Linked DNA regions of Homo sapiens: all the other regions are linked to region 1. The links are contacts of gene promoters, found by promoter capture Hi-C in blood cells and fetal thymus (Javierre and others, 2016). All regions are on one chromosome and are shown on one strand. The core of a region is centred on a gene start or on the middle of the fragment in contact, and the rest is flanking DNA. Distances in the headings are between cores, read along the strand shown. Region 1 holds the start of CLEC3B (C-type lectin domain family 3 member B). Region 2 has its middle 10 kb from the start of ZNF852. Region 3 overlaps LARS2 (leucyl-tRNA synthetase 2, mitochondrial). Region 4 overlaps LARS2 (leucyl-tRNA synthetase 2, mitochondrial). Region 5 overlaps LARS2 (leucyl-tRNA synthetase 2, mitochondrial). Region 6 has its middle 23 kb from the start of LARS2. Region 7 overlaps LOC105377062 (a long non-coding RNA gene).

The links. The method cuts DNA at HindIII sites, captures the fragments that hold promoters and counts their contacts. A CHiCAGO score of 5 or more calls a contact.
Region 2: a fragment that was not itself captured here is called in contact with the fragment with the promoter of CLEC3B in region 1 in 1 of 17 cell types (endothelial precursors); the score reaches 5.0 in endothelial precursors.
Region 3: a contact is called between a fragment that was not itself captured here and the fragment with the promoter of CLEC3B in region 1, in 6 of 17 cell types (endothelial precursors, M1 macrophages, monocytes and 3 more). The highest score is 7.5, in endothelial precursors.
Region 4: a fragment that was not itself captured here is called in contact with the fragment with the promoter of CLEC3B in region 1 in 1 of 17 cell types (M1 macrophages); the score reaches 5.1 in M1 macrophages.
Region 5: a contact is called between a fragment that was not itself captured here and the fragment with the promoter of CLEC3B in region 1, in 2 of 17 cell types (neutrophils and activated CD4 T cells). The highest score is 5.5, in neutrophils.
Region 6: a fragment that was not itself captured here is called in contact with the fragment with the promoter of CLEC3B in region 1 in 1 of 17 cell types (megakaryocytes); the score reaches 5.5 in megakaryocytes.
Region 7: a fragment that was not itself captured here is called in contact with the fragment with the promoter of CLEC3B in region 1 in 1 of 17 cell types (erythroblasts); the score reaches 6.4 in erythroblasts.

Annotation. Positions count from the first base shown.
Region 1 is chr3:45,024,846-45,027,941 of GRCh38, reverse strand. CLEC3B (C-type lectin domain family 3 member B) reads right to left here and starts at 1,639. Exons shown (of 3, transcript NM_003278.3): 1 at 1,471-1,639. The coding sequence starts at 1,579. RefSeq lists enhancers at 258-757, 758-1,259. The HindIII fragment of the contact is 8,892 bases long and covers 1-1,952 here.
Region 2 is chr3:44,519,302-44,522,397 of GRCh38, reverse strand. No RefSeq gene overlaps it. Among named protein-coding and RNA genes, the nearest start is that of ZNF852, 10 kb to the right of the region's middle. The HindIII fragment of the contact is 1,704 bases long and covers 645-2,348 here.
Region 3 is chr3:45,523,855-45,526,950 of GRCh38, reverse strand. It overlaps LARS2 (leucyl-tRNA synthetase 2, mitochondrial), which reads right to left. Exons shown (of 22, transcript NM_015340.4): 20 at 2,843-2,954. Among named protein-coding and RNA genes, the nearest start is that of LARS2-AS1, 16 kb to the right of the region's middle. The HindIII fragment of the contact is 840 bases long and covers 1,229-2,068 here.
Region 4 is chr3:45,440,039-45,443,134 of GRCh38, reverse strand. The region is part of intron 6 of LARS2 (leucyl-tRNA synthetase 2, mitochondrial); the gene reads right to left. Among named protein-coding and RNA genes, the nearest start is that of LARS2, 53 kb to the right of the region's middle. The HindIII fragment of the contact is 3,137 bases long and covers 1-2,985 here.
Region 5 is chr3:45,397,917-45,401,012 of GRCh38, reverse strand. LARS2 (leucyl-tRNA synthetase 2, mitochondrial) reads right to left here. Exons shown (of 22, transcript NM_015340.4): 4 at 640-768. Among named protein-coding and RNA genes, the nearest start is that of LARS2, 11 kb to the right of the region's middle. The HindIII fragment of the contact is 7,408 bases long and covers 1-3,096 here.
Region 6 is chr3:45,364,080-45,367,175 of GRCh38, reverse strand. No RefSeq gene overlaps it. Among named protein-coding and RNA genes, the nearest start is that of LARS2, 23 kb to the left of the region's middle. The HindIII fragment of the contact is 954 bases long and covers 1,039-1,992 here.
Region 7 is chr3:45,341,487-45,344,582 of GRCh38, reverse strand. It overlaps LOC105377062 (a long non-coding RNA gene), which reads left to right. Exons shown (of 3, transcript XR_940798.2): 2 at 1,562-1,731. Among named protein-coding and RNA genes, the nearest start is that of LARS2, 46 kb to the left of the region's middle. The HindIII fragment of the contact is 668 bases long and covers 1,314-1,981 here.

The DNA of each region.
Region 1 (3,096 bases), core at 390-2,889:
TTTTTAACATGAGTTTAAAAAGATTTACATAATTATATTAATACTGAATCTTTGGTAAACTTGAGAAGCTGGCGATGGTTTTCCACATTCAAAAATTCTATGATTTGCCTTTGGAGCTGCATCTTTTACAAAGGCTCTCCCTTGGTGGCGATTTTGGCTAATGCTCATAGACGTAACTATGCACGGTATTGTCTTCTCTTTTTAAATGAACATTTTGTGGAAGGTAATATACACACATAATTTTTTAAAATCCAAACAGTTCAAAAAGCTGGTTTCTTTCCCAGTTGAGACTGCGCCCAGCCCCTGGTTTTTCTTCCCAGAGGTAATCACTGTTACTCACTCTTGTGGATCCTTCCAGAAAGAACTTATGCACATACAAGTAAAAATGTATTATTATATAAATCCCTTTTTCAAAGCAAATGTCAGCATCATACTCATTCTCTTTTGAATGTTTCTTTTTTCACTTTGTAAACTGAATCTTGAAGATGATTTTTTTATCAGCAGCCAGATTTGCCCCATTCTTTGTCACAGTGTTGTGAGGCCCCATGGCCCCGATGTCCCTTTATGCACTGCACTAGTTCCTGGCCAGTGGGCAACTGTCCATTTATGAAGAGCCCCGGGAGGGCCTAAGGGAGGCCCCCACAGCCCCTTCTTTCCTTTTCTGTGCCCTTGGTCCTAGCTGCTTGTTTCTCTGCCTCAGTCCCCACCCTCATCCCCTTGGACTCTCTTCTAGCCTCTGCTCCCTGGGGGGGTGACAGCCCCGTCCATTGCCATGACATTCCACTGATGTTGTCTCAACACAGCCTGGGGTGACCTCACTGCAGGCGGGGCTGCAAGGGCAAGTCTTGCTGTAGCCAAAGCAACCGAGGGACACCCCAATCCCCAGAGGCTACAAAGCAGAGCAAAGCTGCTTCTGGTGGACTAGTCTGAGTTACATTTATTTCCTGAAGGCTGTGATATGCTACAGAAATGAGAATTCATTTCTTCTTCTTTTTCTTTTCCCTGTGCATCAAGCAACAAGTGAGGTGCCTTTATATATTTTGTATCATAAAATCTTCATGAGAAGTCTTTGAACAAATACCACTGTCCCCATTTTACAGTTGAGAAAACAGGTTGGAAGACTCCAAAGCCCAGCCTGTGCAGCTCTCCCTGGTAAGGGCTGAGCGCTGCCAGACTCCCAGGCCAAAGGTTTGGTTTCTTTAAAATATTGGGGATGAGGGGAGGAGAGAAGAGCAAAGATCAGTTTGGATGATCTGGAAGGTTCTTCCCAACTCTAAGGGTCAGGGATTCTTATGATTCTGACAACCAACTCTGCTATGAGAGAACTCCCCCAAGCCCCAAAGCCCACTTTACTCAAGTTCCCTAGATGACTCAAAAGGAGGAAAATGAAGGAAAGGAGCATGAGGACACACTAAGGAGAGGGGGACCTGCTCCCTGGAAGATGGCACAGGGCTCTGTCCCCCTCCTTACCTTTCTTGGCATTTACAATCTTCTTGGGCTTCTGGGTTGGTGGCTCGGTGGTGACCTGGGTCAGGAGGGAGAAGAGGCAGAGGAGGAGGTAGGCCCCCCAGAGCTCCATGCTGCTGCGCGGGCGGGGGCTGCTGCTGCCTGCAGCGGGTCTGGGTCCGAACGCAGTGACAGCCACGGCCCAGGCTGCACGTCTTAAGGCAGCAGCCAAAGGACCTCTGTCCAGGAAACCCTCCCCAACTTGGCTGCAGGCGTGCCAAAAAAATAAAACAAACACACAAGCCTGCAGAAGGATGAAGTCCTGAGGGCCACAGAGCCTCTCTGCCAGGGAACACCCACGCAGCATCCTGGCCCTGCCTTCTAGAAAGAAGCCCTTATTTCCTAGGATTCTGAGAAACACACGGTGGTTGTCATCACATCTGCGGAGCAGCTACCTTGGGTAGGGGCTGAGGCTGGCTGTTCACTAACATTAACTCACAGAAGCTTCACACCCAAACCACGAGGGAAGCACTGTCCTTTCCCCATTTTACCATTGAGGAAATTGAGGCTCGGTGAGGTTAGGGAATTTGCCCAGGCTACCCAGCTGTCACGGGGTAGCAATGCCCCCTTATAGGGTGATCTGGGGCTGGCTGTCTGATTGGTTTAGAATATTTGTTATGATTATTTTGTGGCTCTGTCTCCATGTACTTGATGCATTTTTTGGTTAAAAAATCCAAGGGATTCCTTCCCTTCTTGTCTTCCCTTTCTCCTGAGTCCTGTCCTAAAGCCACAAAGTGGGGCATAGCAAAGGTGGCGGAGGGAGAAGCCATCGTGCCCCAGAGGTACCAGAGAGGATGTGGGGAGAATGTGCCCTCAAGGGGTGGACTGGTGTGGGGTGTGGGAGCCCAGCAGGGTGGAGGGAGCATCCTGGGGAAAGCAAAGGCCCTGCCTGGAGTGCTGGAGTCCAAGTGAGGCAAGGAGGGGATCCATGTGGGAGAGAGGCTGGTGGCAGAGACGGGAGATTGGTTACACACAGGGATACTGATCAAATAAATCTACTGAAGACAGTGGGAGTTAGGTTTCCTATTGTCAGAGAAGGAAGTTATGTATATGGAGAGAAAACTGGAATGAATCCTGTTGTGTGGGATTAAAATCGGAATGATCAGTGTACCCTTGTGGCCTTGAATACATAAAGATAAGTCCATATATATAGATGGAAATGTGTGTGTGTCTAGTCCCCACAGTCACTGGGGGGCCTGGAGCAGCCAGCCCCGCATAGCCTGGAGCACTCCTAGCACCTGAATACTGGCTTCTGAATATGACTTTCCACTAAAGGAACCAGAGCACCTTGCAGAAACGGCTGATTCTAGCACTGGGAAGTAGGAGTGGGGTGCAGAAAATGAGCCCGGAACTTGTTGTTTTGCCAGAAAACAAGGAAGTGCTTAATGAATAATGGGAACACGTCAGTAGGACACAGAGCCAGCTTGAAGGAGCCTTCAGTGGTCAGAATCAGGGACAATTTGAGCACCAACATAGTGACAGTAACAGATGGGAAACCACCAGTGCACACAGATATAAGTAAGTAAGGGAACGCATTGAAAGTCTGATGTTCTTCAATGGGATGTTTACATAGCCTCAAAGTATCTGCCC
Region 2 (3,096 bases), core at 247-2,746, 510 kb after region 1:
CTCCTGGGCTCAAGCAATCCTCTTGTGTTGTCAGCCACCCAGAGTGCTGGGATCACAGGTGTGAGCCACATGCCTGGTCTCCTTGTTCTTTAAAAGAAAAACAAGGCCAGGCACGGTGGCTCACACCTGTAATCCCAGCACTTTGGGAGGCCAAGGCAGGCAGATCACGAAGTCAGGAGTTCGAGACCAGCCTGACCAACATGGTGAAACCCCATCTCTACTAAAAATACAAAAGTTAGCTGGGCGTGGTGGTGTGCACCTGTAATCCCAGCTACTTAGGAGGCTGAGGCAGGAGACTTGCTTGAACCCGGGAGGCAGAAGTTGCAGTGAGCCGAGATCTCACCACTGCACTCCAGCCTGGGTAACAGAGCGAGACTCTGTTTCAAAAAAAAAAAAAAAAAAAAGAAAGAAAAACAAGTTTATCAATCTTGCAGGCAGCCACAGGGGTTAGGATATGAAATTAATCAATTACTAGTGACTACCCTCTACTGAAGTGACTATGTGCAAGCATGCATGGAGGAAGGAAAAAAAAAAGTAAAACAGCTTATGATTCTTTTAATAAAGTCTTGGTTACATATGTTCTAAAAAGAACTTAAAGAGCTTAATCTAAACTCCAATTTGTTTAATGCCATGGCCAGCAAGCTTCATAGGGGATTTTGAAATCTGCCTTGGAAAGGTCTCATAGAACTTGTTTCAACCTCTTGAAGAACCTTGATAAGGGTATTTTTGTTTTTTGGTTTTTCTGTGTTTTGTTTTCACAGGAAATATGCCAAGTCCAAAAGGAGATCCCCCTACCTCCTTCATACCCATTATATCCATTTTCTCTTCAGTAAGACCTTCAGGACCTGAACTGCCAGCCTTCCATCAGCCCCTCATTTATTCTGGCCCCTCAGTATTAGTCACTCCAAATTCACTGTGTGGAGTGAGAACTCCAGTTGGCTCAGGAGGCTTATTTCCTCTTCCCTCCCGCTTTTCTCCCTTCTTGGAGAATTGGCTCAGCAGATCTGAATGGGCTTAGCAAAAAACAGGCTGATACCAGCCTTGAAGTTGAGATTCTGCTAACAAAAGCTGTACCTCCCTGCAGGAAGCTCCCATTTACATAGGCAAGCACCTTGCTGGTGTCTGTGGGTGATCCCTATTGATACATAGACCATTGTGGGATGGCACAGTATCTTTCTGGAGCCCTTTCCATGATGGGTGGAATCCTGGTATTTTTCTTTTTAAGCACTCTTCTCTGGGGGATGATGGGAACTCGGGAGCTCCTGTAAGGTCTATTTCTTTATTTGTTTGTGCCTCGTTCTCCTGCTCCTGAACTCTATAGCAGTAGTGGTGAGGATGTCTGTGCCACTGAGGGACTGTCTCTCTTCTGTTGTGTGTCCCCACAAGGAAGCAGAACAGAGCCTAGACATGGGCACTGCAGGTGTCTGGAGTTCAGCAGTGATACAGGACAAATGTCCCACTCTGTCTCTCTAGAATGTCTCTGTCCTCTAAAAGAATTAAGATAGGCTGGGCGCAGTGGCTCACACCTGTAATTCCATCACTTTGGGAGGCCAAGGCGGGCAGATCATGAGGTCAGGAATTAGAGACCAGCCTGGCCAATATGGTGAAACCCCATCTCTACTAAAAATACAAAAATTAGCCGGGCATGGTCGTGCACACCTGTAGCCCCAGCTACGCTACCTGGGAGGTGGAGGCAGAAGAATCACTTGAACCCGGGAGGCAGAGGTTGCAGTGAGCTGAGATCACGCCACTGCACTCCAGCCTGGCAACAGAGTGATACTCCGTCTCAAAAAAAAAAAAAAAAAAAAAAAAGAATTAAAATAGATTCCAGTTTTCCTTTCTTCAGAACTTTGCCTCTTTTCCTTTTTTTTTTAAAAAAAAAAAATCTTCTCCCCTGCCTTTGCTGTCTTTTCATTTCTTTTCTTTCTTACTTTTCTTTTCTTTTTTTTTTTTTTTTTTGAGGAAGTCTCATTCTTGTCACTCAGGTGGAGTGCAGTGGTGCGATTTTGGCTCACTGCAACCTCCGTCTACTGGGTTCAAGTGATTCTCCCGCCTCAGCCTCCCGAGTAGCTGAGATTACAGGTGCTAATTTTTGTATTTTAGCAGAGACAGAGTTTCACCATGTTGGTCAGGCTGATCTCGAACTCCTGACCTCAAATGATCCACCCATCTATCCCCCCACTCCCCTGAACCTTAACTAGCATTAGTTTATAACAGACGACCTGCAAAACTTACAAAGATAGCTCTCCAAAGAAGTGTCCTGAGAGTTGCCAAAAAGAAATTGCACCAAGGATCCAGAGAAACAGGCATTAATAATCGAACACATGCTTCCATTCCAACCCTAAGCTTCACAGCAGTTACACATAAAGAAAACTGTAGCCAGAAGCAAGAGCACAATCTGTAGCCTTCTCTTCTCACCTTACAAAAACTCCAATGTTTCTTTGGCTCAGAGATTTGCCTCATTTCGAGGTGCTCACTGATACACACATAAGCTGAATACAGCCTTTACCGACTATTTTATTCACTTTAGTTTGCTTTCTTTTTTTTTTCTTTTTTTTTTGAGACAGAGTCTCACTTTGTCACCCAGGCTGGAGTGCAGTGGCCACGGTCTTGGCTCACTGCAACCTCTGCCTCCCGGATCCAAGCAGTTCTCTGCCGCAGCCCCCCGAGTAGCTGGGATTACAGGCGCCCACCACCATGCCTGGCTAATTCTTGTATTTTCAGTAGAGGCAGGGTTTCACCATCTTGGCTAGGCTGTCTTGAACTCCTGACCTCGTGATCCATCCGCCTCGGCCTCCCAAAGTGCTGGGATTACAGGCGTGAGCCACCGCGCCTGGCCAGTTTGCTTTCTTGACAGTAACATTAGACTTGGTGCCAGAAGGAACTTGGAACATAAGTCTGTTCAACATTCTTTGGAGAACAAGAATCTCAATATAGTTCCCTGCATCCCAGGTAAACTATCGCCCTTTCATAACCTATAAATTGATAATAAAGGGGTATAACTGCAGCTGACACAGACAGAAATAGGGAGCTACCAGAAGCTGTAGGCAAGCAACACTGAGGTAATGAGTTCAGGGTTTTCCAGATAGCAGAAAA
Region 3 (3,096 bases), core at 399-2,898, 500 kb before region 1:
TTGAACTCCAGGATTTCACTGAAGATTTTACTGTTGCATTTATCTTATTTTCTTAAGAATAGGTCCCATTTTGGACATTTGGTTTTTTGATCAGAATTCTATTGTTCTTTGGTGAAAATGTTTTCTAGTAACTAACATCTGCTGGCCTAATGCCCTATCTATCTGCTTGTGTACTATCTTGAATGTTGTTTGTCCACTGGGAGAGGATGGGAATAGGTCCCATAAATTTGTCCTTGAGCTAGCCCTAAGGGTGAAGTGGTAAAGTGGTCAGTCAGTTACTTCTTGGAGACACGCTGTGCCCGAGTCACCATTGCAAAATCTCATAATGACTTCTCCCTCAGTCTTGTTCTTGTGTTCCTGAGAACTGCTTTTATGTTAGTTTTGTCTACCGATAAGCAGGAGGCTTTGTCTGGCTCCTGATCAATGATGACTTGACTTTGATCAAGCACCAAGATGCAAAATTCCACAAGCAGCAACCCATGGATATGTTGCGGCTCATGTCTTGGTCTTTTCAATCTAAAACTGCCTCCTCCACCACAAGCACAGGCTTTCTTTATGTTTTCTAATTACAGCCCTAACTCCTGTGCATATCTTTTTAAGTGCCACAAATTTCCAAAGACAATTTGGAATGACAGTGATCCCTTTGGGGAACTTTTGATAGGAACAAAATTGTTCATTTGAGAGGTTCCTTAGAACAAAAAGGATAAAACAATTCTGATTATCCAATGGTATGATTTCTTTAATTGTATAAAGAGGTTTCTAACATAAATCGGACTCAAAAATTGTCTCCCTTAAAGATTCAAAATGTGAGAAACTTAAAAACTGTCTCCCCTGTAGATCCACTGAAAACACATTTCAGTTTTTCCCATCTTTCCTCACCTCCTTCGTCTTTACGTTTAAAATCTTGCTCAACTCATGAAGTCCTTATAATTGCCTTCTCCTCCTCCTCTCTCTTTCCCCTCCTACTTTAAATCAGTTGCACTACCTCATTGTCACTTAAAATTGCAACCCCTATGAAAGAGGCATCTGACACTGACTGGTAGCTAGTATTTAAGCTATGTGGTTGTGTTTAGCTCTGCATGCTATTATTAAGGACTTCCCGAATTCCAGAATGGAAAGACAGGAATTAATATAGAATTCAGACTTATCTTGGGTACACTCAACCCAGGCCTCTCTGACTTCTTCCAACTAAGCCACCTGTTGGAGGGGGCCAGGAGTTGCAAAAGCTTGGTTTAAAAAGGGTAACTAAAAGAGTAACTGGAAAGACCCAGAAGATGACTTAAGACACAATGAAATACACTTGTACTCAATCAGGATGTCTTAAAGCATATAAAGTAGGGCAGAATCTGTTGGGAGCTACACCACATCTCTTTCCTGCTAAAGTAAACTGGACCTTGATTCAGTCTTGCAAGCAGCAAAGAATGAACCAAAGGAAACTTCAGAGTCAGACCCATCCAAATCCTTACCCAGGTTTTAGGATTAGTTCCTGATTTCCAAAGCCCTTTCCACTTTTTTGGTTGATGCTTAAAGTCAGAAACTGTAGATATGGTACATAAACAAAAAACTGGCTGGCAAATCCTCCCACTACGTGAACTTCAATATTTGGCTGAACAAGTTTAATTTTAAAGTGGCTTTAGATATCAAAAAGGATAAAAATCCAAACTAAGCTCATGGGTTTACAATGAAAGCGAAATAAAACAGATTCGCTTTTCCTCAAGGAATGAAAAACACTTCCTTTTGACAGAGACACTTATACTGTAAAAAAGGGGACCCTGGAAAAATAAGTCTCATCTTAGCTAAAAAGAAAAAGGAACCACTGCTCCTCCTGAGGAATTAAGAAGCAACTCTGAGGGAGATGGTAGGGCCCAATTCCCAATGAGTCCCTCAAATCAACAAGGAGTACTATGTTTTAAAGTAGAAGGCAATAAACAAGGCTTTGTGAGAGACACAGGCAATACTCTGTCAACTATAAATCCTACTGTAATTTCCACCTATTTCCTGTAGGCATAAAGTTGCTTGGGTGGTGGGAATTTCAAATAATCCTCAAATTCTTCTTATCACTCAAGCTTACACTGAGACTCGTGGTTTGCTCAACTAAACAACATGCATTTCTTCTCTGTGACACCACATCAGTAAATTTAATTAGGAGAGATCTTTTTTTTAGAAGAAATCTTTTACGTCAACGAAACTGCCAAGTCACATGCATTTCAGATGACCTATTTCTAGAAACATCTGAAGACTTTCCCATGCATGCATGATCTTTCAGGAGCTCAATTACATGTCACTTTGCCCCTCCCTATATGCTTGGCCTAATCCCAGTTCGATGATTATGTGAAGTCCTGGTTTTGTCCAGGCTAACAGTCCCAATGATGTGGAGGGTTCTAGGGGCTGAAATTCAAGCAGGCAGTCAGGCCTGCTTTGATGCCTAGATTAGGAATAATTGGTGAAGAGTGCTGAATTACAGTGTAAGTTTAGACCTATAACTTAATTTCCACCTGTACAGTGGTATTAAACATGAGTTTTTATCTTAAAAAGACCACGCAGGTCATAATATGTGGATACTGGGGGGCTGAGTCACGAGAAGGGATTAAGATGGTAACATCAACACCCACATTAGTCTGGGCACATTATTCAAAGCAGGGAAGTGTCTTTCCTTTTGGTAGGGGTGACCATGTGGATGAAGTACTACCATTCAGAGTACAGGACAGAGAGGTTGCTGAGTATAGATGCCAAATGTTGGACCCTATATCTGAGGACATCTGAGTCCCGAATGATGTTCAAAAAGAGGCTTCGACAAATTCTAGTTAGTAGTAACTGGTCAAAAAAGGACTCTGCCACGTACCTGCCCAGATCTCTGAGGTTACATGAGGGGCCAGTGGAGCAGCCATTACCATCAGGGCACACAAAGCATCCTCAAACTCGGGGCTGTGGAGAATGACGCTCTGAGAGGCTTGCTAAGGAAGAGGAAAAAAAAGTAAGAAGACTGAGGTGTAAAAATAAGCACGGGTAAGAAAGACCATTAATGTATCTGAAGTCCAGAGACACAAGCTGGTAGGAAGAAACCCCCTTTGCCATCCATTTCTGCTTGGGACAATG
Region 4 (3,096 bases), core at 168-2,667, 420 kb before region 1:
AGGAAGAGTGCTCAACCGGGAAAATTTTGTTCCCCAGAGACCATCTGGCAAATACTGGAGACATTTTTGTTTGTCACAACTGGGGTGTGTATGCTGTATGTGTGCTACTGGCATCTAGTGGATAGAGGCCAGGGATGCTGCTTTAAAAACCTATAGTGAACAAGACAGTCCCCAGAACAAAATAATCACCCAGTCCCAAATGTCAATCAATAGCGCCAAGGTGGAGAAACCCCGATCTGTGAGTTCAGATTTCTTCAGTTTGAGTCTATAATCACAGGCTGATTAAAGAAGCATCAATCAAACAACTCTCTGGGGGCCATTCTATACATACTGATAACATGTTAAACATCAATGAGCAAAAGTGGAAAGATGGAGGCGGTTAAGTGAGTTGCCCTTCTCCATCGGGGGTAGCCCTATCTCTGTTAAGCATGACTTGCAGCGCACACAGGAATGCTGCATGATGCGACCACCAAGCCTTCTACCAACTCGGAGACCAACCAGGGGAGAGACATGTCAAGTCTGGGGTTGCAGGCAGATAAAATTCTGAAACTCTATTATGTGTGCATAATGCTATTCACTGGTAATAAGTGGTTGATTTTACTACCTAAATTTTAAATCATTTAATGTGCCTCCAAGTAGTTGTCTGACTTGGAAAATCTACATAATAAATTTGTGTAGTAAATTTCCTATTTTGAAGTTGCATACAGTTTTTCTTGATACAACATGAGTCCATCCCTTCCCATAAAATAGTTGTTGAACAACTAAACGTTTAAAGATCATCTATGAGAATCTGCCCCACAGCACCCAAATTCCAGACTGAACCCTGCCTGCAACTCCAAGGGGGAACCCTGTGTCTGTGGGGTGGGGCTTCCTGTTGCTCACATCTGCCCACAAGCTGTGGGATAGCTTGTGGGTAAGACTCCTTAGGGAGACCACCACAGAAGTCAAATAAAAAGTCTTTTCCTTTGGCCTGCTTTTCAAATAAGCCAACGCCTACGTTAATGCACCATTGTTTTCAATACAAAAGTCAGGCAATTCAAAGTTATAGCTACAAAAGCATTGGCAATTCAGCCACACTCCACATAAATCTACATAAAAGTGTCAACTTTTATATCTTCCTGAGCTCTAGAAAGTGCAATCTAGCTGCCAAGAGACCAAATTTACGAATCTGGGATTCCAACTAGAATTGTTCCTCCAAGCTGCATTTCTACATTCTGTAATACCTGGTTTTTAGCATTAAAAATATTTTGCACATTCACAGGCAACCACAGAGCCCAACACACAATCTGAGCTCTCTTAGAACACAAGTGAGGCTCAAAACATCATCTTTTGCGACCTGCCACCCATACCTCAATGACTCTGCACAAATTAACAATTAAGCCAGTCTGGCCAGCAGCTCCTGAGACACAGCGATTCATCAGTGATAAAGTCTAAGAAGGCTGAGGCACGGAGGCCTACCTTACTGTTCCTGGTATAAAATAATACTTGGTCTGTGAAGGAAGAATCACAGCACTCAGCCACCTTCCATGTGCCCCACTGAAGCCTCCTTAGGCTCACACTCCTTGCTCCAGGAAAGAGCCTGGGAGAGTATGGTCTCAGGAAAGACCCTGGAGCCATCTGACTTGGGTTCAAGTCCTCGCATCCTCACTAGTTTGTGGCCACACCACATTTCCCTACTAGAAAACAGAAGCAATGAAACACATCTTAGAGGGTTGCTGTGAGGTTAAAAGGCAATTGTGTGCAAAGCATACGGCTGGGCTTGCAGGAAAAATCAACAAGTACACCCCTTGGCTTTACTCAGTGTGTGATGGGCCGGGTGCAATGGCTCATGCCTATAATCCCAGCACTTTGGGAGGCCAAGGCAGTCAGATCACCTGAGGTCAGAAGTTAGAGACCAGCCTGCCCAACATGGTGAAACCATGTCTCTACTAAAAATACAAAAAGTAGCCAGGCGTGGTGGCATATGCCTGTAATCCCAGCTACTTGGATGGCTGAGGCAGGAGAATTGCTTGAACCTGGAGGTGGAGGTTGCAGTGAGCCGAGACTGTGCCACTGAACTCCAGCCTGGGCGACAGAGCAAGACTCCGTCTCAAAAAAAAAAAAAAAAAAAAGAGTGTGTGATGGCAGGGGTGAGTGAGGCTGGCTTCATTACCGTACCACTCAGAGGTGGGCTGATGTACCCATCAGCCTACTGGGGTAAGGCACAAGGGAGAGAAAGAACTGGGGTAAAAAATAGTGTTCTGCTCCTTAACAAATATTGGCTTTTCGACTAAAAAGAGATGGTGTTTATGAGGGAAAGACCAAAACACATGACCAGATGGAGAAATCCACACTAGGCTGCTCCCAGTCAGCTCTGGCTGGGAGGGCCTGCTAGGTTGCCTCCACCCCCACACTGCTGCTTGGGCAGGATTTAGTCTTGGTTTCTCGGTCCACTTTGACAGTGATGGCCCTAGATTTCAGAACAGCTCATTCAAAGCTGTCATGTATTTTGGTGGCATCACAACCTCAGGATATTTAGGTTAGCTACCAGGAATTTAATAAAACAAAACAAAACAAAAAACCCGAGGCAACATGTTTATCAAGTCAATCATCCGGCGGCCCTGTAAGCATGTCAGAAAGGTGAGCGGCCACTGCACATCACAGTTTCTAGCAACAAAGCATCACTTCACCTCCCCAAGTCTCATTGTGAGCCTCCTGCCTTCAAAACAATGAGTCTTGGAAACAGAGGAGAGTTGTTCACATGCTTTTTGATCTTTTGTAATGTGCACTTTTGTCATTTGCAACAGATCAAAAGGAAACATGTTTAGTGATGGCTTTGTCTTTTATGCCTTCCCAGGTACTTTAATTCTAAAGTGGAGGGATTCTAAAAGCATAATACAGCTCAAAGGCAGAGAAACTAGCCTTGGCATTCCTATTGTGCAGCTTAAAAGAGAAAATAACAATCCAGGCTACATCAGATGATTCTCACTGATGATGGTTCAAGCTTCCAGTCCACAGCTCTGTACACCTGCGGCGTTGGAAGAGGGAGAGACAGGCTCATGAGAAAATCTGCCAGAACCAAGACACTGACGGCCACTCTCCGCTAAGTCCTCTACA
Region 5 (3,096 bases), core at 156-2,655, 370 kb before region 1:
AGTGAAACCGTCTCTACTAAAAATACAAAAAATTAGCCAGGCGTGGTGGTGGGCACCTGTAGTCCCAGCTACTCGGGAGGCTGAGGCAGGAGAATGGCGTGAACCCGGGAGGGGGAGGTTGCAGTGAGCCGAGACTGCGTCACTGCACTCCAGCCTGGGCGACAGAGCAAGACTCCGCCTCAAAAAAAAAAGAAAAGAAATACATGCTCAAAGAATATGGAAAATATCAAATAGAACAGAAAGAAATATCTTGCAGTCTCACCTGCCACTCATAGCACTGATGTGTATTTGTACTGTTGACCTCAGTTCGTTATATACAATGATTCTCTACTCATGGGTGAGTATCTCCTGGGAAGATTATCAGTGTTATCCACATTTGTATCTACCTTTCACCCCATTCCCATCTGATCTCCACCCCAGCACAACACCCAACTCATGGCTGCCCCCCAATTAACCTAGATGCTTTATTATAATATCATCTAATCCATAAAAGGAAACACTGAGCTTTTCATGTCCATCTTCAAAGCTGTCCTAATCTTAACTAAAGTTGGTTTTCTTCATTTGTCTTGAACACATATTACTACATGCCAACCCTGCGTGTGGCAGACAAGGGCTGCTCCAGCAGGCACCTGTTCTTACCTGCATCCCTCTCATCTTCTGGAACCGTGCTATGGTGTCGCTGATGGTGTAGACACGCACATGGCCCATGTGCAGCTTACCAGAAGGATAAGGGAACATGGAAAGCACGTAAAATTTTGGCTTCGATTTCTAGGAAAGAACGACAATGAGTATTTATTAAGCATTTTCTGGGAACTCTGCATGTATACATAATATTTTGGCATTTTACACAAAGTAATAATTTAACATTTTAAAAGTTTCCTTTTAAAAAGAGTGTTCCCAGAATGTAAATCAATTAAAATGTCAAAAAGCAAAATTCAAAGCCCTGGTTTAAGCTAAAGAATGTCCAAAATAATGCCAAACAACCTCTAAGTGTTAAGTACCCATATATCTTTTTTTTTTCTCTTTTAAAAACTTATTTTTTGAAAGGAATGAATTAACAGTATTTGCAGTGACCTGGGTGAGATTGGAGACTATTATTCTAAATGAAGTAACTCAGGAATGGAAAACCAAACATCTTATGTTCTCACTGATATGTGGGAGCTAAGCTATGAGGCATAAGAATGATACAATGGACTTTGGGGACTTTGGGGGAAGGGTGGAAAGGGGGGTGAAGGATAAAAGACTACAAATAGAGTACAGCCTATACTGCTCGGGTGAGGGGTGCACCAAAATCTCACAAATCACCACTAAATAACTTACTCATGTAACCAAATACCACCTGTACCCCAAAAACCTATGGAAAAAAAAAAGAAAGAAAGAAAAGCGGTCCCAATGCAGACCCGAAGAGAGGGTTCTTGGATCTCACGCAAGAAAGAATTCAGCGCCAGTCTGTAGAAGAAAGCGAAAGCAAGATTATTAGGAAAGTAAAGGGATAAAAGAATGGCTACTCCATTAAAAAAACAAAACAAAACAAAACAAAACAAAAAAACACTTCTCTTTTAAGACAGCTTCTATCTAGGTCCTTAAAGAACTGTTTGTTTTTCCGAAGGAAGCTCTAACATACATATATCCATATAATTCAAAGAAGCAATAGTTGAATCACATAGATGTAACATCTCTAAAAATGGAGTCTCTTCCTAAATTCTCTATAGCTGCATTCTGACGTAGGTTTAGCAGTAATAACAGGATCCTAAAGTACCAATTTGGGTCCTGAGTTTCCCCATTGTATTGAGAGCCTATCTTTCAACAAAAATGTTGAAATGGGAAGGTAATGAGAAGATCCTTTTAAAAAGGGAGAAGGTTGTTGTTCTCCAGGGATGATAAATAAGCAGCCTCAGACCAGGGTTATATAACTCTCCAGCTTCCAAAGAAGCAGCTTCATCATGAGAAACATAGACAACTGTACATGTATCTGAACAGAAGGAACACAGGCCAATGAGTCCTTATTGGATCACTGACTTCTGGCATCTTAATTCTTCCCCTGGTAAAATGATGAATGTCGTCATGAGTGTGCACATGAATGGATAAGGCAAACAAAGATGGTAGTCCTTGAATTAACTCCTACTGGGGGGACCTACTGTTCATGGGGGGACCTACTGTTCAAGGGCAAGAACTGTGCTTTAGTCACCTCTTTCTCCACGTCTGCCCCCAGTGCCAGCAGGAGTTTCATAAAATGTTGGATAAATGTTCGTTGGCCTTTGTGCTCCAAAAGCCTGATAACTGGCCCCTATGGAGCACTTTTTACCCAGCAAACTTCACAAATCCTACCCAAGTAATAGGAGGGTTCCCCACACCCAAGTTTAAATCATCTCATGACAGGGTCAAGGGTGGAGGGGCTGGAGAGAAAGGAAGAGCAACAGGTAACTGGGTAACTGATTCTGTTTCGTCACTAAGGGTCAGAACTTCTGCTTTTATTTATTTCTGCCTTCTGTTTTTTCTTCCTGGCCTTATTCCCTTGCTAGAACTTTACTCCAGTTCTTTAAGAATTTGCTTCCCCTGAAGTAATGCAAACAAACACGAAACAGAATATTCATAACCCTTCTTTTATGTACATATGTGGGATGGGGTTTTTAAATATTGTTTGCTGAATGTTCGCATGACTGATAATACACATAAACCAAATATAATCAGTAGAGCAGAAGAAACCAGAAATCAGATTCTTGCCAAGGAGTTCGTAAACTTCTTTCAGCAAAGAAGTTAAACAAACCTTTAACGGAACCATTAGCACGTGGCAAAAAGAAACCCACAAAAACTAGAGTAGAACTTTTCTTTGTGCTGCCCATCCTCTAGAAATTACCAAGGAGTGTTAAGCTGCCTGAAGGAAGAGATGGGAAAAAGAGAACAATTAAGAAATCTGGATCATACACAAATTAGAAAATCATCTGGAACTGCTGAAATGACAACTACAATGGATTTATACAAACAGGATGGAAAGCAACACATTGGTCAGACACTTTAATTAGAAACTGCAGATTTATAACTCTTAGGAAAACCACAGAAATCTGAGAGAGGACCTGAGATTCAGGGGTTGGTGGG
Region 6 (3,096 bases), core at 266-2,765, 340 kb before region 1:
TGAAACCTTGTCTCTACCAAAAATACAAAAAAATTAGCCAGGCGTAGTGGTGTGCACCGATGGTCCCAGCTACTTGGGAGGCTGAGGTGGGAGAATCGCTTGAGTCCGGGAGGTGGAGGTTGCAGCAAGGCAAGATCGTGCCACTGCATTCCTGCCTAGGTGACAGAGTGAGACCTCACCTAAAAAAAGAAAAAAAAAATACTAAGATTGTATAGGAAAGGAAGAAATCTCTCCCTATTACTGACCATTCAGTGGAGGAAGAAATGGTACGGAGTTTTCATCTGTGATATTCCTGCCAGACTGTAAGTTCTTTGAGGGCATGAACTGAGTCTTGTACACACCCCGGGAAATACCATAGCAAGCGAATAAGCTCAGAAAGAAGACCGTTCTGGGGAAGAATTGAGGCTCAGTCACTTGCTGATGTGTGAGCTTGGACAAATCACCTACCTTTGATTTTTTTCACCTGTAAATAGGGTAAAAATGAGAATGCCTACCTTTTAGGGATGGTGCCACTTGTAAGTACAATAATTCATGGAAAATGCCTCATATAATGCCTGGCACATGGGGCTTTCAGTAAATGTTTGTTTCTCCATTCCTGCAGCAGCCAGCCAGCTTCCTTGATTATAGTCCTGGCTCAATAAACATCTGCCAATTTAGCTCCTCCTTGAATTGGTGGGGCCCCAGGGCTCATGCTTGCTGAACTGGATGAATCTGCAGAAAAGACTTCTCTGAGGAGGAGCCTCTCCCTGAGTTCCCTATACCTTCTCTTAGGCCCCAGTCCAGGGGACAGCCCTCTACTCCTGTTACTTTCTGAATGGAACGTAGATACAAGATAGGGAAAAAAGCAATTTAAACCCAACATTCTTATGTGGACACCATTTGTGTGTAAAGTCTGTACCTGGCTATCTCCCTCTTCTGGATTTATCTTTGCATCTGACACAGCACCTATCAACCTTAGCAACTAATATTTGTTGAGCACTTAATATGTGTCATCAGGCAGTGTGTTAAACCCTTAATAAATATTAATCCATCTAAGCTTTATAACAAACCCTCTCAATAGGTACTATGATCATTGTTTTGCAGATGAGGAAATTGGGACCCAGGGAGATTAAGAAAAACCACTCAACACCACACAGCTAGCAAGTGCTAGACTGGGATTTGAACCCAGGCAGTCTGGCTCCAGAGCTCATGCTCTTAACCACTAAAGCTGGGCTGCCTCCCTCAATCCTTGCTACACATACTTGCTTGATAAATACGAGTTAAATGTCTGTTGAGTAAAAAGCAACAGGCCTGTCAACTAGCCATCATCCCATGTAGTCAATCTTTCCCCTCCATGCACAAAGGTAAAGATGAAAGGCATGCTTTGTTTCTTGCTCTGAAGGTCATCTGTCCTGGTTTTCCTCAAATTGAGCCTCAACTTCTTTAGAGCATCACTTCACCCATGCAATGTCCAAACAGGTCTTATTTCAAGTGTTTACTCTTCTGAACCCCAAGAAAATTTTAAATTATTCTCTTTTAAGCACTGATAATAAATCAATTTCCCACTATCTGTAAGCCTTGCTTCTTGGGAATAGACTCAGGAATTGGATGGACCATTTTTTCACATTGCTTCACGCTGACCTGCAGGATAGGCCTGGCATTGATGAGCCAAAGGACTAACGACGATCTTTGCAAAGCCAGCATCTGACAGGTCAGTAACTAGGAATATAGGAGTGGATGCCCTTCTGAAACTCCTCACAAGACAATCCAGGCCTCAAGTGTCCTGAAGTAAAATCAGTGTTTTCTTAGGAGCCTGATACTGAAAGGGATTCATCTTGGGCATCCCTTTCAGGGTCACAAGGTTTGCTGAAAGTTGTCTCTTTTATTATCTTTCAAAACTTTGATGCTTTCCCCTAAATGCCTTACAGTGCTGAGTGTATATGAAAAAACCCATTCAGAATGACTCATACCACAATTATACTTGGACTCAGAGACAGACCTTGGGATTAAGCTTTTAATCTATTCATTACAGGGGAGAAAAAAAATCCTTTCCATTGCTGCAAATCTCCTTAGGCCTTGTGATTGCTTCTAGAAAAAGATGATCCTATTTGAAGAAATACTGTATTTTATAAAACAGTATTGAGTTACATTTGACCTGCAGATATTTAGAATTTGTTGTTGTTAGTCTAAGAATGGGTTATAGGTGACACACATTTATTTGCAAATGTATTAAATGTATCTTGCCCATCTTTTGGTGATATCTGCAATTCTAATAAAGAACTTTTAATGGATCCTATATCTCTTACATTTCTGCCATCAATTGGGCATTTAGTCATAGTGACTTTTAGTGTCTCTTATATTCTTGTAGGGTTAATTAGCCCCCGACTTCATGTGTATGTCTATTGCCCCCCACCAAGTAGTCTATAAGTTAATTAAATCAATGATCATGCTCCTTTGATCCTCAATCAGCAGTTCAGCTTATATACAGAGGACAGCAAATTATGTATTGCTCCCAAAGACCTAGTTAAGTATTTTCCAGGCCCAATTATACAGCAGACGAATAGAGAACAAGTAGGCTTTAGTTTCTTATGCTGCCCAACTTATGGGGTGTAGAGATTGTGTCTGTAAAAAATTTAACAAGCACAAGGCTCAAGGAGGGAGCTGGGGAACTGGTCAGCTGATAGGAATAACAACAATAATGTAACTGCACCACCACATCCTTCAGTGGCTGGAAGGGCTTGCCAGCACGTGCTTCGCCTGACAGTGGCTTCCTGGTGGCTGTTGACAAACACACCCAAGTAGAGAGGATGGTACCAAACACAGCTGAACTAATCGCCTTTCGGATCAATCAGAATAAGTATCTGAGGAGCTCCCTCAAGCCCCTTCTTTCTAGTCTTTCTCTCTCTCTTCTCCCACCTCATTTCCCTCAGTCTTTTTTTACCCTTCATGTTTCTCCCTTCTCCCAAACATAGTTTCTAAATATGTAAGACAAACCAGCCTTTCTCTGTCTAATAATGATTGCCTTTCACAGCAGACCTTCAAATTCTTACACTGAATGATCCCTTTCCCACCAGAGGGGAAGATGACAAGAAACTAGAAATCCAGGCTGGCCAAATG
Region 7 (3,096 bases), core at 398-2,897, 320 kb before region 1:
GGCGGTTACAAACATTCAGTTCATAAGAGCTGACAGCTGGGAAGCCTCAAATGGCTGGGGGGTGGTATCACCTAAGTGCCTTTTTACTGTGTCTGGCACCTTGAGTGGAATGGCTTAAATGACTGGGGGTTTATTCTCATTCTTTCTGTCTTTCTTCTTCCACATGGTGGCTCAGGGCTCTAAGAGCAAGTGTTTCAGCAAACAAGACAGAGTCCAGAGATCTTTTAGGCCATGGCCTCAAATGTCAAATGGCATCACTTCTGTTATAGTCTATGGTCAAAGCAGTTACAATCCTGCCCAGATTCAAGAGAAGCATCTTGGGCTACATGGGCTCTAGTTCTAAGGGAGAAGTATCAAAAACTTGTGGCGTTCTGTTAAAACTACCACAAGGGGTCCCTCTTTCTCACAAAGTCCTTACAATCCCAGGAAAGGACTCTGATTGGCCTCACTGGGGTCCAAGGACAACCTCTGGACCAATCACCATCAGTATGTTGATTTAGTGCCCTGAGTGGCCAGTCTCAGGTATAAGCTCCACCTTGTGCCATTTGATGGATTGTGTGACCTTGGAGGAAGAGGGTTTGGCTACGGAGTGCTTATGAAATTGACAGGAATCTTTGAGTTCATGGCAAGAGTCCATCAGCCTTTAAATGATGAAATGTACAGATTATTTTTTACCATTGTCTACTGGTAAAAATCAAGGAAGAAGGATAACTTGAGGCAAATAGCACTAAAACTGTACCCAAGCACTAAAACTGTACCTCACCCCTACCACTGCCTGCTCTTTGCTTGCGAGGACCAGGCAGGGAATTGGTCACCACATTCCCAGCCTCTCTCAACTTCCTGTCAATTCTCACCTCCACCTGGTGTCTCTCTCTCTCTCTTCTCCTCTTTCTCCAATCCAGCTCACCCTTTGCCAGACTTCACTTCCTGAAATGTGTCTTCTGCTTAGGTTGTTCCGCGACCCAAACTCCTGAGTAGGTCATTCAAAGCCAATCAAGGCCTGGCCCCAATTTACCTTTCTGACTCTATCTCCTGGAGCTCATCTGTGGGAACCCCTACCTACAGTCAGGCAGATCCTGAGAACACGCCTCGTGTTCTACCTCTGCTAACTTCGCCTGCCTTTCTGCACACCTGCACCTGAGCCAGCCTTCAAGGTCCAACTTCAGATCACCATCTCCTTGACACCATTCCTGATCACCCCAGACTTTGGGGTTTTACTCCTTCCCTAAACAAGTGCACTACATGCTATGTCCATTTCTGGTCTCTGTGTTTGTCTTCTCCATCCCATTCCCGCCAGATCCCCCTGGCAAGCTTGGTGTCCCCAACCCAGGAAGAATTATCCCCTGAAGCAGAAGGAATTTAAGAAACTTCAGGGATTCAGTATTAAGTTGCTTTTGTTGTTCAGCTCTGACTAGTGTGTCCCAGTACTGATAACTGGGTTCCTAACTTGTGTCCTGCAATAATAATGACATCCAACATTTCCAAGCATGGCCTAAGTGCTTTGATATATCCCCTTATTTAATAATAAAAACAATGCTAGTATTTTTTCCCCATTTTACAGAGGCAACTGAGACACAAAGAAGTTAAGTAATCTGTCCCCATTCAAGAGAGAGAACATGGGCTCCACCTCTTGATGAGGGAGTGGCAAACTTTAGGAGAGCATGTGGGACCAGAAACATTGTCGCAACCATTTGTAGAAAATACAGTCTAACACATCATACTCTCCTTCAGGTAATTTTATTTTCAGATAATTACTTTTTATTTTCAGATAATTTGAGAATTATAGAAGAGAGTTGTAAGGATGGTACAGAAAATTCCTGTAGGCCCTTCATCAAAGTTCCTCTAGTATTAATAACATCTTACATCCTCATGGTACACTGCTCAGGGCACATTCAGTCATTATATCTCCCAGTGTCCTCTGATCTGGGCAGTGTCTGGGCCTTTCCCTATCTTTTCTGACCATGATACTTTTGAAGAAGCTTGGGTCAGGTGTATACTCTCACTTTGAAAAAGCACACAAATCTCATGTTCAGCTTTAAGGATGTATGAAATTTTAAAAGTCAATAAAATTCCATGACCGCAGTGAAAATAGTTCTCGTATTGTATGCTCTTCCCATCATATATGACTGTCTAAAGATTGCGAACTCCTTGCCTGAGGCATATAAACCCTCTTTCTTACATGGAAAACAGCTCCTAGGCTGATCTGAGCTTCTGTTTCCACATCCAATAATAAAGGGGTAGTGGGGTGGACTACATAATCTACACTCTCTGCCTTGGCTCTAAAAGTAGATTTCATAAACTAAATTTCATGGACTTAAAAATAGAATTTTTGCTCCTTAATTCTTGATCAAATTTCTACCTTAATTTTAAGGGAAACACAATTAAATCAATATCTTTTCAAGTCTAAAACCTACACTTTTTCTGTCTCTGGGCATTCCTCTCCCCGTCTCTCCACTTCACCAGGCTCAAGACTGTGGGAGGACAGCGGGTGAGCTCAGGAGTCATCATCCCCCAGCCACCAGTGTGCCACCAGCTTTAAGGAAGCATTCAGAGCAGTTCTGATGAGTGAATGGCATCTCTTTCAGATGGACTACCCCGTTTGCCTCCTCACTGCTCTGTTTCTGATGCAAGTTTACTAACTTACATAACTTCCAAGTGCATTTTTCCCTCTAAAATTACACAGTCAGGTCCTCCAGGGCAGTGACCTGGGGCACTATTTCCTTTCCCTGCCCACACTGTGTCCACTTTAGGGGTGGTCAGGGAATATGCAATGACCTACTCACTCCTTGGGTATCAGCAAGACTCGTTCTGGGTATCTCCTAGTAAAATAATTTTTCATTCATTCATTCAACAAATGTTTTTAGACACCTATTATATGCCAGGGGCTGTTCTAGCTGCGAGGCCCTATTCTGTTGGGGATAGGATGTCCAACCTCTCAGATATTTGATATTTGAACATTGCTCTGGAAAATCCCCATCAATTGCTGGCTAAATGTATTGGAAGGATAAAATGGGGTATACATGGTGGCAAAGCAATGTGTGTCTGGGTTTAAGAATAAACAACAGGTTGTTTTATTCCAGGTGAAATATACTATGG